4 separate regions of the Homo sapiens genome follow, and regions 1, 2 and 3 are each linked to region 4. Evidence: promoter capture Hi-C in 16 types of primary human blood cells and fetal thymus (Javierre and others, 2016). All regions are on one chromosome and are shown on one strand. Each heading gives the region's core, a stretch centred on a gene start or on the middle of the fragment in contact. The rest is flanking DNA. Distances are from core to core; before and after follow the strand shown.

What was found. Contacts are between HindIII fragments. The CHiCAGO score rates a contact against its expected background, and 5 or more counts as called.
Region 1: a fragment that was not itself captured here is called in contact with the fragment with the promoter of CAAP1 in region 4 in 1 of 17 cell types (total B cells); the score reaches 5.9 in total B cells.
Region 2: a contact is called between a fragment that was not itself captured here and the fragment with the promoter of CAAP1 in region 4, in 1 of 17 cell types (total B cells). The highest score is 5.1, in total B cells.
Region 3: a fragment that was not itself captured here is called in contact with the fragment with the promoter of CAAP1 in region 4 in 7 of 17 cell types (total CD4 T cells, megakaryocytes, naive CD8 T cells and 4 more); the score reaches 8.4 in total CD4 T cells.

What each region holds. Positions count from the first base shown.
Region 1 is chr9:27,367,489-27,370,188 of GRCh38, reverse strand. All of the region lies in intron 2 of MOB3B (MOB kinase activator 3B), which reads left to right. Among named protein-coding and RNA genes, the nearest start is that of EQTN, 72 kb to the right of the region's middle. RefSeq lists enhancers at 1-354, 355-1,108, 2,626-2,700. The HindIII fragment of the contact is 1,036 bases long and covers 745-1,780 here.
Region 2 is chr9:27,325,595-27,328,294 of GRCh38, reverse strand. MOB3B (MOB kinase activator 3B) reads left to right here. Exons shown (of 4, transcript NM_024761.5): 4 at 1-2,700. Among named protein-coding and RNA genes, the nearest start is that of EQTN, 30 kb to the right of the region's middle. The HindIII fragment of the contact is 2,910 bases long and covers 1-2,700 here.
Region 3 is chr9:27,274,122-27,276,858 of GRCh38, reverse strand. It overlaps the pseudogene REXO6P. Among named protein-coding and RNA genes, the nearest start is that of EQTN, 22 kb to the left of the region's middle. The HindIII fragment of the contact is 2,624 bases long and covers 161-2,737 here.
Region 4 is chr9:26,891,371-26,894,070 of GRCh38, reverse strand. CAAP1 (caspase activity and apoptosis inhibitor 1) reads left to right here and starts at 1,269. Exons shown (of 6, transcript NM_024828.4): 1 at 1,269-1,658. The coding sequence starts at 1,356. RefSeq lists enhancers at 1,040-1,109, 711-1,290, 1,240-1,459, 1,540-1,719, 1,291-1,870. The HindIII fragment of the contact is 2,677 bases long and covers 805-2,700 here.

The sequences.
Region 1 (2,700 bases), core at 13-2,512, 480 kb before region 4:
GGTGTCTGCCTTCATGACCTAATCACCTCCCAAAGGCCCCACCTCCTAGTACCATCAGCCTGGGAATTAGGATTTCAACACGTGCATTTGAGGGGGGCATAAGCATTCAATCCGTTGCATTCAATAATTACATATGGAGAACCACCGTGTTCTGCTATGCATTCGATGCCAGGGCTATGACTATGAACAAGAAAGATCCCTGACATTACACAATTTTCAGTCTCCTGGGAGACAAAAAAAAAAAAAAAAAAAGGACAATTAAAAGTTGATGTGGTAGTATTGTCATGGAAGAAGCAGCGGGTGTTATGATATGCCTACCTAGACTGAGGGTGAGGTGGCCAGGGAGGACGTTCTAGAGGAAGTGACAAATTAGTTAAGGTTTGAATAACAAATGGGAGTTAGTCAGGCGAAATGGAGAAGCTGAGGAAGAGGTTTCCAGCTACCAACCCTCCAGTATGTAGCAACGCCCAGAAGCAAGTGAGAAAGAGGATCGTAGCTTCAGATGGCTGGAGTATTACATGCAAGTTGGGAGAATCCAGAAATGATGGTGGACCACTGCATGTGTGAAATCATAAAGGGTCTTGCCTGCATGTTAAATAGCTTTGATTTCACCTTGGAAGCAGTAGGAGGCTGCTTTAGAGTTTTATGCAGAAAAACAGGCTTCCTGGTTAGATTTGCGTATTGGGAAGGTCCTTCACCTGCCAAGTGGAGATTGAAGAAATGCAGGAGTAAAGAAAGGAAGCTTAGTTACAAGGGACCTGCATAAACTAGGCAGGAGGTGAGCTAGGAAGGAGGCAGTGGGGCTGAAGAGAAATTTAGAGATCAGCAACTGTTCAAGACAAGACTTGGTGTTAATTGTCCCCACATAATGGAAGAAAGATTCTACTGGGGAATAAAGAATAGTTTTATTTGTGAGGATACTCACAATATTACATCCATGACAAAGAACCTGGCTTTCAAATTCTGGTTGGGGCTCATGAAAAAAACCAGAAGGTGTGGTAGTCCTAGACCTATATTCCTGATCAAACTCCTGGTACCTCAGCCTGACTTTCCAGAACCAATGAAGTTCATTAACATCCTGTTCTCAGCTCTGGCTCATTTGTCCCATTTGATTTTCAGCAAACTGGTCAGGTTTACACGGTCTAGGGTTTGTTTCTAATGGCTTTTATTGTCAATCCACAGTGAATATCTTTCACGGGTTATCTTGGGTCTTTCTTAATCTACTGCTCCTTTCACATCCATGCTGTGAAAGCAGGGGACAAAGGCAGCCATCTGGGAGCTGGGGATGCTGATGAGCAACTCAGAAGTGGCGCTCAGGGGTAGGAGGAGGTGTGACGAGCAGGCACGCTGGACTCATGGTTGCTCCTTGGGGTGGCTGAAACAGCACTTCCTATGCCCAGCACATGGCATGTCTGAAAGAATTAAGACTCTCTTGAGAACATATAATCACATACCACTGTTTGTCTTTCTTTTGGCCCAACCACCATGATAACAGACTGGAGGACAGCACAAAGGGGCTGGGGAGGGGCAGAGGGAGGGAGTTGGAAAACAGAGTAGTAGCCAGTTTATTTCTAAGCATTTGCAGCTGTCAGCTTGTTTGGGGACTTTGTTTTCTCTTTTTTTAGGCAGAGGAACAAAGTCCTGCTACACAGGATTGTTTTCCTTGGCATGACGAACAGACACTTTCTTGAGGAACGTACTGAGATAACACAAAACATCTGCTAAGAGGAATCAATCCTCGCAGCTGAATTTTCATCAGCATCAGCAAGAACACGAAGCTTCTCTCTCTCTCCCTCTCTGTATGTGTGTGTGTGTGTGTGTGTGTGTGTGTGTGTATGTATGTGTGTGTATATATATGTATATGTATGTATATATATAGACAGAGAGCAGGAGGCAGGAGAATGGATGGATGAAGGGGCAAGAGAATAAGCTAAGAGGAGGAGGATATATATTATTAAGAAACATCTGTGTTGTTCATGTGTTTTGTTTTGTTTTGTTTTGTTTTTGCCTTGTGATCCGATTGCATCTTGTTTTGCAAGTATTTTGGAAATGGTGTGTTCTCAGCCACGCTGCCAGAGGAGGTATGTTTTCTTTTTCCACGTGTGTGGGATGTTGTTTTTATTCATGAACTATTGAGAATGAGTGGTTTTTATGACTTGTAGAGGGATTTTCACATCCCTCTTATTACTGGACTCTGAAGACAGAAGGGACAGCACAAATGCCCTCAGACATGAATAACAGTTTCAAGGAGAAACATGGGCACTTCTGGTTGTTGTTGACATGCCATCAGGGGTCCCAAAGGATTGGCCAGGAAATCAGGTTTCATCATATGTCCTTTGGAAGCTCCTTGGACAGTTCACATGCTCTTCCAATATATGACATGTCTTCCAAGTATACTTTCCAAGAAGAGTTTATCCTTTGGAGAAGAGGCAGCTTCACCTGTCCTGTTTCATTTGCCCTCCTGCCACCCCTGTCTTGGCATTGATTCAGAAGAGCCGTCTTCCTAGCGTTGGTAACATCGGCTGCCATTTGCCAGATGCCTTCTGTGTGCCTGCTGGTGCTGTGCTTCTCATTTAGTCCTTGTGGTCTCATGAAGAGCTAGGTATTATTATCACCATTCCTCAGACAAGAAAACAGAGGCTTTTGGCAGTTAGCAAAGTTGCTTAAGGGCAAGCAGCACAGAAGTCCCACAGCTGGAAT
Region 2 (2,700 bases), core at 20-2,519, 430 kb before region 4:
TGTTCATCTCTGTTATAAATGGAGCTTCAGCCCTCTGGGTCAGAGACTGACAACCCTCCTTCTTCTTCCTAACCTGTCCTACTCTCCTTCTTTTTCTGCTTTCATTTTAATTTTGGGAAATTTTAAAGTAAAAGTTTCAAAGTTGAAAGATTATAGTGAGTACCCTTATGTCCTTTAGTGCATCAGTTGTTAATGTTTTGCCTTGTTTTCTTTTCTTCCTTTTTTTTTTTTAAGAGAAGGGGTCTCTCCCTATTTTACCCAAGCTGGCCTTGAACCCCTTGCCTCAAGTGAGCTTCAACCTTAGCCTCCTGAGTAGCCAGGACTATGGCATGTACCACCGCACCTGCCTCACATTTTCTTTCTCACTGTAAATACACATTCTTATTCTTGAACCTTCTGAAAATAAGTTGCAGACATCATGAAAATGTAAAATACTTCATCATATTCTTTCTTTTAATAAGAGCATTGTCCTATAAATCTGCAATATTTTCACGCCCATGAAACTGAACACTGATACTGCATAAATCTAATATATGATCCATATTCAAAATTCTCCAGTTGTCCCCAAAATATCCTTTATAGCTGTTTATTTTTAAATCCAGGATCCAATCAAGAATTATACGTTATATGTAGTTGTCATTCTCTTTTGTTTCCTTTAATTGATTAGAGTTGCCCTTTTGTGTGTGTCTGAGTGGTGGGTGGTGGGGTGGTGTTTGTGTATGATGTGCAGTGTGTGTGTGTGTGGTGTGTCTTTCATGACACTGACATTATTAAAGAGTTCAGGCAAGTTTGTGGAATGTCCCACAATCTAGACTTTTTTACTGATTGTTTCCTCATTACGAGATACAGGTTACATTTTTTTTCCCAAGACTGCTACATGTGTGATGTTGTTTCCTTACTACTGCCTCACCTCAGGAAGCACATAATGTCTACTTGTCTCTTTTCTGATATTAGGACTGATCAGGTGTTGTCTGCCTGATCCAATCATTATCAAGTTCCATAATTCATTATTAAGCTCTGAAATTCAGGACACATACATTTATAGAGTGTGAGGCTGTGCATACGTACATTCATCCCTTAATGTTCTCAAGGAGGCCCAGGATCCCCAAAATATTATAAGCATTGCAGTCAGATGATATAGCACTAGCAAAGCATTCATCCCTTTCCATATAACAGGAGGGAGGGGAAGAAGGAAGTTTCCATGTGCAGGCAATACGTGAGAGCATGGGCAAGTGAGGATTTGTATGCTCCCTGTAGCCAGAGGTGAAATATTCAACGCTTTTATTTTTTCTCCCGTCTTCAATGACCTCCCATTTGGACCCATAGTTTATTTATAGAGAGCACACACTCCCTAATTGTCAGATGGTTTTTTTGGGAAAACTCTTAGATAGTACAGTGAGTTGTGACCCTCCAAAGGATCACAAGTACATAAACAGATACAAAGTATTTATGTGGTATTAAAATTTCATGGTGATGGTGCAAGGGAGAGATGATTAGGAAGAAAATGTCTTACACGGCTGTAATTGAGAAATACTGATCTAGAGTCATTTCCTGCTTCTTAAATTGTTCGTTTTCTCTTCCCTGGGTATTTTCTCATTTCCAAAGACCCAGAGTCTCAGAGCCAGGTTAAGTGGAAGAAACTTTGAGAGGTTTCTTAATCAATTCCTTCTATCTCTCAAACCATGCCAGTAACTTCCTTGGTGAAAAAATCTATACTCCTCTCACAGTTCTTCGGGCATGGAAATTCTATAGCATTCTTTGGTATAACCAACCCACTGAACCCTCCACAACATCTTGAATTCCATTCAACTCGAGCTGAAGTATTCTTTTTGAGTTTCAGTATATCTTTTCTAGTGTCCCACTTTTAGAAAGGTCCAAAGATGATATATAATAAGTGAAAATACAATTAATCAGAGCTTTATTTGCATATCCATTAAATATCTGAAGGCTATTACCAGTTGTGCTTCAGCCTCCTTTCCCTTGCAATTCTCCCAGGGTGGCATCCTCTACGGAGTCTTGTTGCTCCATTGTTGACCACTGATGTAACTCAACGTGAAACCTTCCCAAAGCTCTCCACATCACTCTCTGTTATGGCTGTGACCAGCAGTGAACATGAAAAGAACTTATTTCATGCCTTCTCCAAACTATATTGTTTCTTTGCTAAGTCCAGACCTGCTTTTTCTACATTTATAGGTTTTCTATTTTAATCGCCATGCAAAATTCTTTATCATACTCAATCATTTTGGTTTATCTTCCTGACTTCTTACCTTTAACATCCCTGTTAAAGATTACACTGTTGTTGTTTCAAAAAAAAAAAAAAAAAAACCTTAATTGGCAAAACATTAAGGGACTTGAATAGAATTACACTTATCTTTTTGTGCTGATTTATGTCAATCCATCATTCTGGTTATTGATGGAAGCAAATTGCTTCCTATGTTCTCTAAACCTTATGTCCCTTCCATACTCCATGAGTACCACACTGGGAGAAAACAAAAGCAAAAAGATTGTGGGAAAAGTATAGCCATTATCTTTGAGGAAATGTGTACCAAGGCACAATCATTAAAAGGAGTTGGAGGCATCATTTGGTTGACACTGTTGTCATTCTTGTTCTGATCATTTTGGACCTTGAAGAAATTGGTGATTCTCTCCTAGAATTAGACAAACAAAGTGTGTTTGGAAATAATGATTGTTTTCCTGCCT
Region 3 (2,737 bases), core at 223-2,722, 380 kb before region 4:
TTTACTGTGCTGAAATTGGATAATTCTTTTTTCCACTAGGCTTCAGAAAAGGATGATATGTTATATTACAAAAACACATCTGGACCAAAAAAGAGAATTGCACACTCTGGCAAATTTGATGTGAATTATTTAGTTCCTCATCTCCCCGCTGCTCAAAGCTTTATATAAAGTGCATACCTTGTTATTTCCAGTTTTATTATTCTAGGACTATTTATCCTTTTGTCCACTAGGGGGCACAATTTACTGGCAGTCGGTACATTGATTCCTGCTTGTTAGCATTTTCCTGTCCGTTTCCCCACCCCACCCACAGATCTAACATTTTCATTGAAAGCAGGTATATTATCATTGGGTAGCCTCTTAACCATAAATTTTAAAAGTCGATCCTCATTATTCACAGATTCCAAATTTGCGAATTCACCTACTCAGTAAAATTGACGTGTAACCTTAAAATCAAGACTTGCTGTGCTTATGAGATCATTCACAGACAACGCAGAGTGGCAAAAAATTTGAATTGCCTGACATGCACATTCCCAGTTAAGGCTGAAGAAGGTGATAGCCTTCTTGTTTAAGCTCACATAATGTAAAATGTCCTTTTGCAGTCCGTTTAGTGCCAGGTTTTTTTGTATCTGTGTGCTTTTTGTTGGTGATTTTGTGCTGAAAATTGCCGCTCATTGTAGTGCTGTCTAGTGCTCCTAAGCATAAAAAGAATGTGATGTGCCTTACAGAGAAAATATGTGCTAGATAAACTTTGTTCAGGCATGAGTTTTAGTGCTGTTGGCCACGAGGGTATTAAATGAGATGTCTGTAAACATGACACATATGTAAAGCAAGGTGATACTTTGATTGACCAAAAAAAAAAATGTGACCAGAGACTTACCTGAACCTAACCCCATGTTTGTTTGTTTTAGGAGCAGTGGATTCAGTGTTCACTAAATCTGAGTTTGTGGTGACTTACAGAGTATAACTACCTGAAATAACAAGAATCGACTTTAGTTTTCAAAATAATTATAAACTTTTGTAATTTATAAGTGCTGAAGTTCTTTTATGACATAAAAAAGAAATTGAAGAAGCAGTTCAGTGAGTAGTATTCCTTTAACATTTTTGTGTTTAAAAAAGTGATATTTAGGCCAGGCGTCATATATCATGCCTGTAATCCCAGCACTTTGGGAGGCCGAGGCAGGTGGATCACGAGGTCAGGAGATGGAGACCCTCCCGGCCAACATGGTGAAACCCTGTCTCTACTAAAAATACAAAAATTAGCTGGGTGTGGTGGCGCATGCCTGTAATCCCAGCTACTCTGGAGGCTGAGGCAGGAGAATCGCTTGAACCAGGGAGTCGGAGGTTGCAGTGAGCCGACATCGCACCACTGTACTCCAGCCTGGCAACAGAGTGAGACTCCGTCTCAAAAAAAAAAAAAAAAAAAAAAAAAAAAGATATTTAATAAACTTTCTGCATGGCAGAGTCTATACTTCCAAATCACAAATGAAAACCTGAATTTCAGTTCTTCATAGAATAGTTGGGTGTCCTTGGGCAAGTTATTTAATTTTTCTGAGCTTCAGTTTCCTTATCTATGAAAGGAAAATTGAGTGCCTACCCCAGGGTCAAATATATAAGTACTTAATAAATGCTAGTTACCTTCCTCTTATTTCTTACAAAGTTTTTTTGGTGGCTAACATTATTTCCCTTTAACTGCAAATGTTGTGGTGTTTATAGTTTTAATTTTATTGTGCTATGTAAAAAAAAAAAAAAAAAAGCCAGGTGTGATGGCGCGTGCCTGTAGTCCCACCTACTCCCTGTTACCCCCTCCCCAATTCTTGTATATAAATAGTTTTTGGCTTTGTAAATAACTGTCCTTAAAATTCTCACAAGTTGAAATAATTGGACTAAAGATAAAGAATTTTAAGATTTTTAAAGCATTCTTTAAAAATCTTATTGTCACTGTATTGCCTTCCAGAAGGGTTTTCACAATTTATAGTCCTTCTCAATGTTTCAGAGTTCTCTTCCCACAAACCCTTACCTACGATGCACATTATAATTTTTTAAAGCCTGCAAATCTGGTTAAAATTTTATTGCCTTATCTTATATTACATTTCTTTAATTATTAGTGAAGCTAAACATTCTTTCCCATGTTCCATTCTCTTATAACAAATGTTGCTGTGGAGAAGTCTGCTTGCCTGCTATTTCACCCTTTGAGTCGTGTGATACTTTTGTCTGCCTATCCAAAGGATTCTTCCTTTAATTCTGAAGTCCAATAACTTTAGTAGATATGTCTTATTAGCTATTCTATTTTTTCTGTCTACATACAAAGTATCACTTTTGTATGAAATTTAATTTTTTAGTTAAAACTTTCTTAAATTATGTTTCAGTAGTTGTTCAGTTTTATTATTTCCTTATTTCTGGGGATACTCCAACTATGCATGCATTGGATCACAATCAGCGTTACAAATGTGGTCAATTTACTGTGTGGCTGGCTGTAAGGCCCCCAACGAGCTTCTATGATAGAAGAAAGGCAAAATTATCAATTTTATCAATTTTTCATCATTTTCATTTGTTTTATGTTGCTGCCCTATAGGCCTCAACCAATAAAGAGGTCATTAGACCATTCAGGGTACCAGTCCCACTGCTAACAAGCCCCACTGGAATCATTCGGGCCCAGCAAAGCAGTACAGATAAAGGCTGCCATAAAGAATGGGAAGGCTTTTATTGATGCCACTTCAGAACAGAAGAAAAATGCATC
Region 4 (2,700 bases), core at 20-2,519:
CCTGAGGTCGGGAGTTCGAGACCAGCCTGACCAACATGGAGAAACCCCTTGTCTACTAAAAATACAAAATTAGCCCTGCATGGTGGCGCATGCCTGTAGTCCCAGCTACTCAGGAGGCTGAGGCAGGAGAAATGCTTGAACCCGGGAGGCGGAGGTTGCAGTGAGCCGAGATTGTGCCATTGCACTCCAGCCTGGGCAACGAGAGTGAAACTCCGTCTCAAAAAAAAAAAAAAGAAAAAAGAAAAAATCTAGCAATTTAGTTTTATTAAAATTATGATGGTTTCAGGGACACAATTCATAACAGGTTTATAAATGTAACATGTTATTAATTTTATGTGTTTTTCCTATCTGTGAACACAACACTCTCAATCCTTTCAGGTATGACTCCAATGAGTGTGATACTTAACGGAACTCCTGGGAACACAGTGGGCTCAGCCCCAGGATTTACCTTACAAGGCCAATTTAAGAGTGGGGCCTGGGGGAAGACAGTTTTCCTAGGGCTGGAAGTGTCCCTATTTATTAACCCTAGGCTGGTTTTAGGCATTTAAGTAGTTGTTGAATGACTGAGACAAATAGGAGACAAAGAGAAGGGAAGCTTCTTTAATTGCTTCTTACCCCAGGGAAAGGCACAGAATTACTACCACCCAGCTAGCTTTGCCCCAGGCTCTACCTTTTTCCCTCAGTGGCTAAAGGCCCCTGCTGAAACGACAAAGACCTTGGTTCACGTTTTAAGTGTTCTAGCTCCCTTGTCTTAAAATCTGCCTTCTATTTAGATTACATCCACCCATAAAATCTCATAAAGCTTTGACCCATTCTCAATTTTCAAAAACGAACTCAAGCTCTACTTGTCCATGTCAGACTCTACGCAAGAAATACCTAATTTGCCCAGGTGATGAGGAAAATGAGATGGAACAACTTTTCCCTATTCTCTTTATTGTCATAGCGTTGTTAATATCTTAAGATTTGGAGGTAAACGGAAATGGAGAATCAGCAACTATACTTCAACCTTATTGTAAACAGACAAAACACTAACAATAAAAAGTTTTGAAGTTAAAAGGACGTAAGTTCCACCTTCTATCCTTTGTAGAGATATAAAAACAAAACAAAACAAACTCTGACTAGACAGGCTACCCGCTACACACTCAAATCGACCTCCGCGACCGGAGGGGGAAGCGCAACTGGTTATGGCAACCCCCCTGCCACCCCGGCCCATAACGCTTCACCACGTTCTGTGCCACGGCCGGAAGTGACGCATAACCTGCGACGCCAGTGCCTGCCGCCCACGGCCGCAGGAGTCGGGCTTCGGTCGCACCAGAGACAGCGGACTTTCCTCCGATGGTTGCAGCAGAGGGATCATGACGGGGAAAAAGTCCTCCCGGGAGAAACGGCGCAAACGTAGCAGTCAGGAGGCGGCCGCAGCGCTCGCGGCCCCGGACATCGTACCCGCGTTGGCCAGCGGCAGCAGTGGAAGCACTAGCGGCTGCGGGAGCGCCGGGGGCTGCGGGAGCGTCAGCTGCTGTGGGAACGCCAATTTTAGTGGAAGTGTCACCGGCGGTGGGAGCGGCGGCAGCTGTTGGGGCGGGAGCAGCGTGGAGCGCAGCGAGCGCCGGAAGCGGAGGAGTACCGACTCTTCCAGCGTCTCGGGCTCCTTGCAGCAGGTGCGTGCGCGCCCCTCTGGCCGCTTCCTGGAGCTGCTGCTTTTTCGGAAGAAGTCGGGCTTCCAGAGGGATGGGGCGCAGGCTGGAGCTCACTGCTAGCGCGGCAATCTCAAGGTCGTCCGTCCTTGAGGTTCATGTTCCTACCTAAGTCCTGGTGAGCCCCACACTCCCATCCGTGTCTTGAATCTTGAACTTCAAGTTTCTGGATTTCCTGATCACTTTTTTTTTAATTTATTTTTTAAACTCTTGGCTCCTTCCACTCCTATGGTTTCACTCTGCCGGAAGAATACGAGTTGGAAGCTAGCCTTCATTTCCCTTGCGAGCCAAACACTTCTCCCTTCGTCTTCACCTTTTCGTAGATATGGTTAACTCCGCATTAGAGATAAGAAAATTGAGGCCCAAAGAAGTTAAACTTTACCCACGGTCACAGAGTTTGTTAATAGCTCCTAGGTTTGAATCCAAATATCTGACTACAAAAGCCATGTTCTTTATACGCCACCAGTCTGCCAAGAGAACGCCGTTTTAAAAAAGTTCATAATTTGTTTGAAAACAAATGAATGAATAGGTACTTTAAATTCATTCAATGAGGAAATAAAGGGAAAGCGTCAAGTCCCTTTTCTTGCCCCTCCATTAGTATTTTGATACGCGGCCTCTTTTAATCACTCCTCGTGAGATACGTGTTTTTAAGTTCCTACACTTAAGCTGTATTGTGTTATTCCCGCTGTTGAATACCTGCATTGTTGTGATAGGCTTCTTTATATACGTGGTTTGTTATTTTTACTGACTGCCTGGTATTGTATTATATTTTTCTGATATTTGGGTGTGCAGGTTTTTTTGTATTGTTGTGACTACAATACAAACACCTTTATGTATATATCTCCTACAAGAGTTATGTTGGGAGAGAGTGTGAGAACTGAAATTCCTGGGTCAAAGTTTATGCTATTAAAAACTTATGAATGCCACCAAATGCTTTCCAAATGAGACTTTACAGATTTATAGTCCAAACAGTATATATATAAGAATACCTATTTCTGAGATTCTT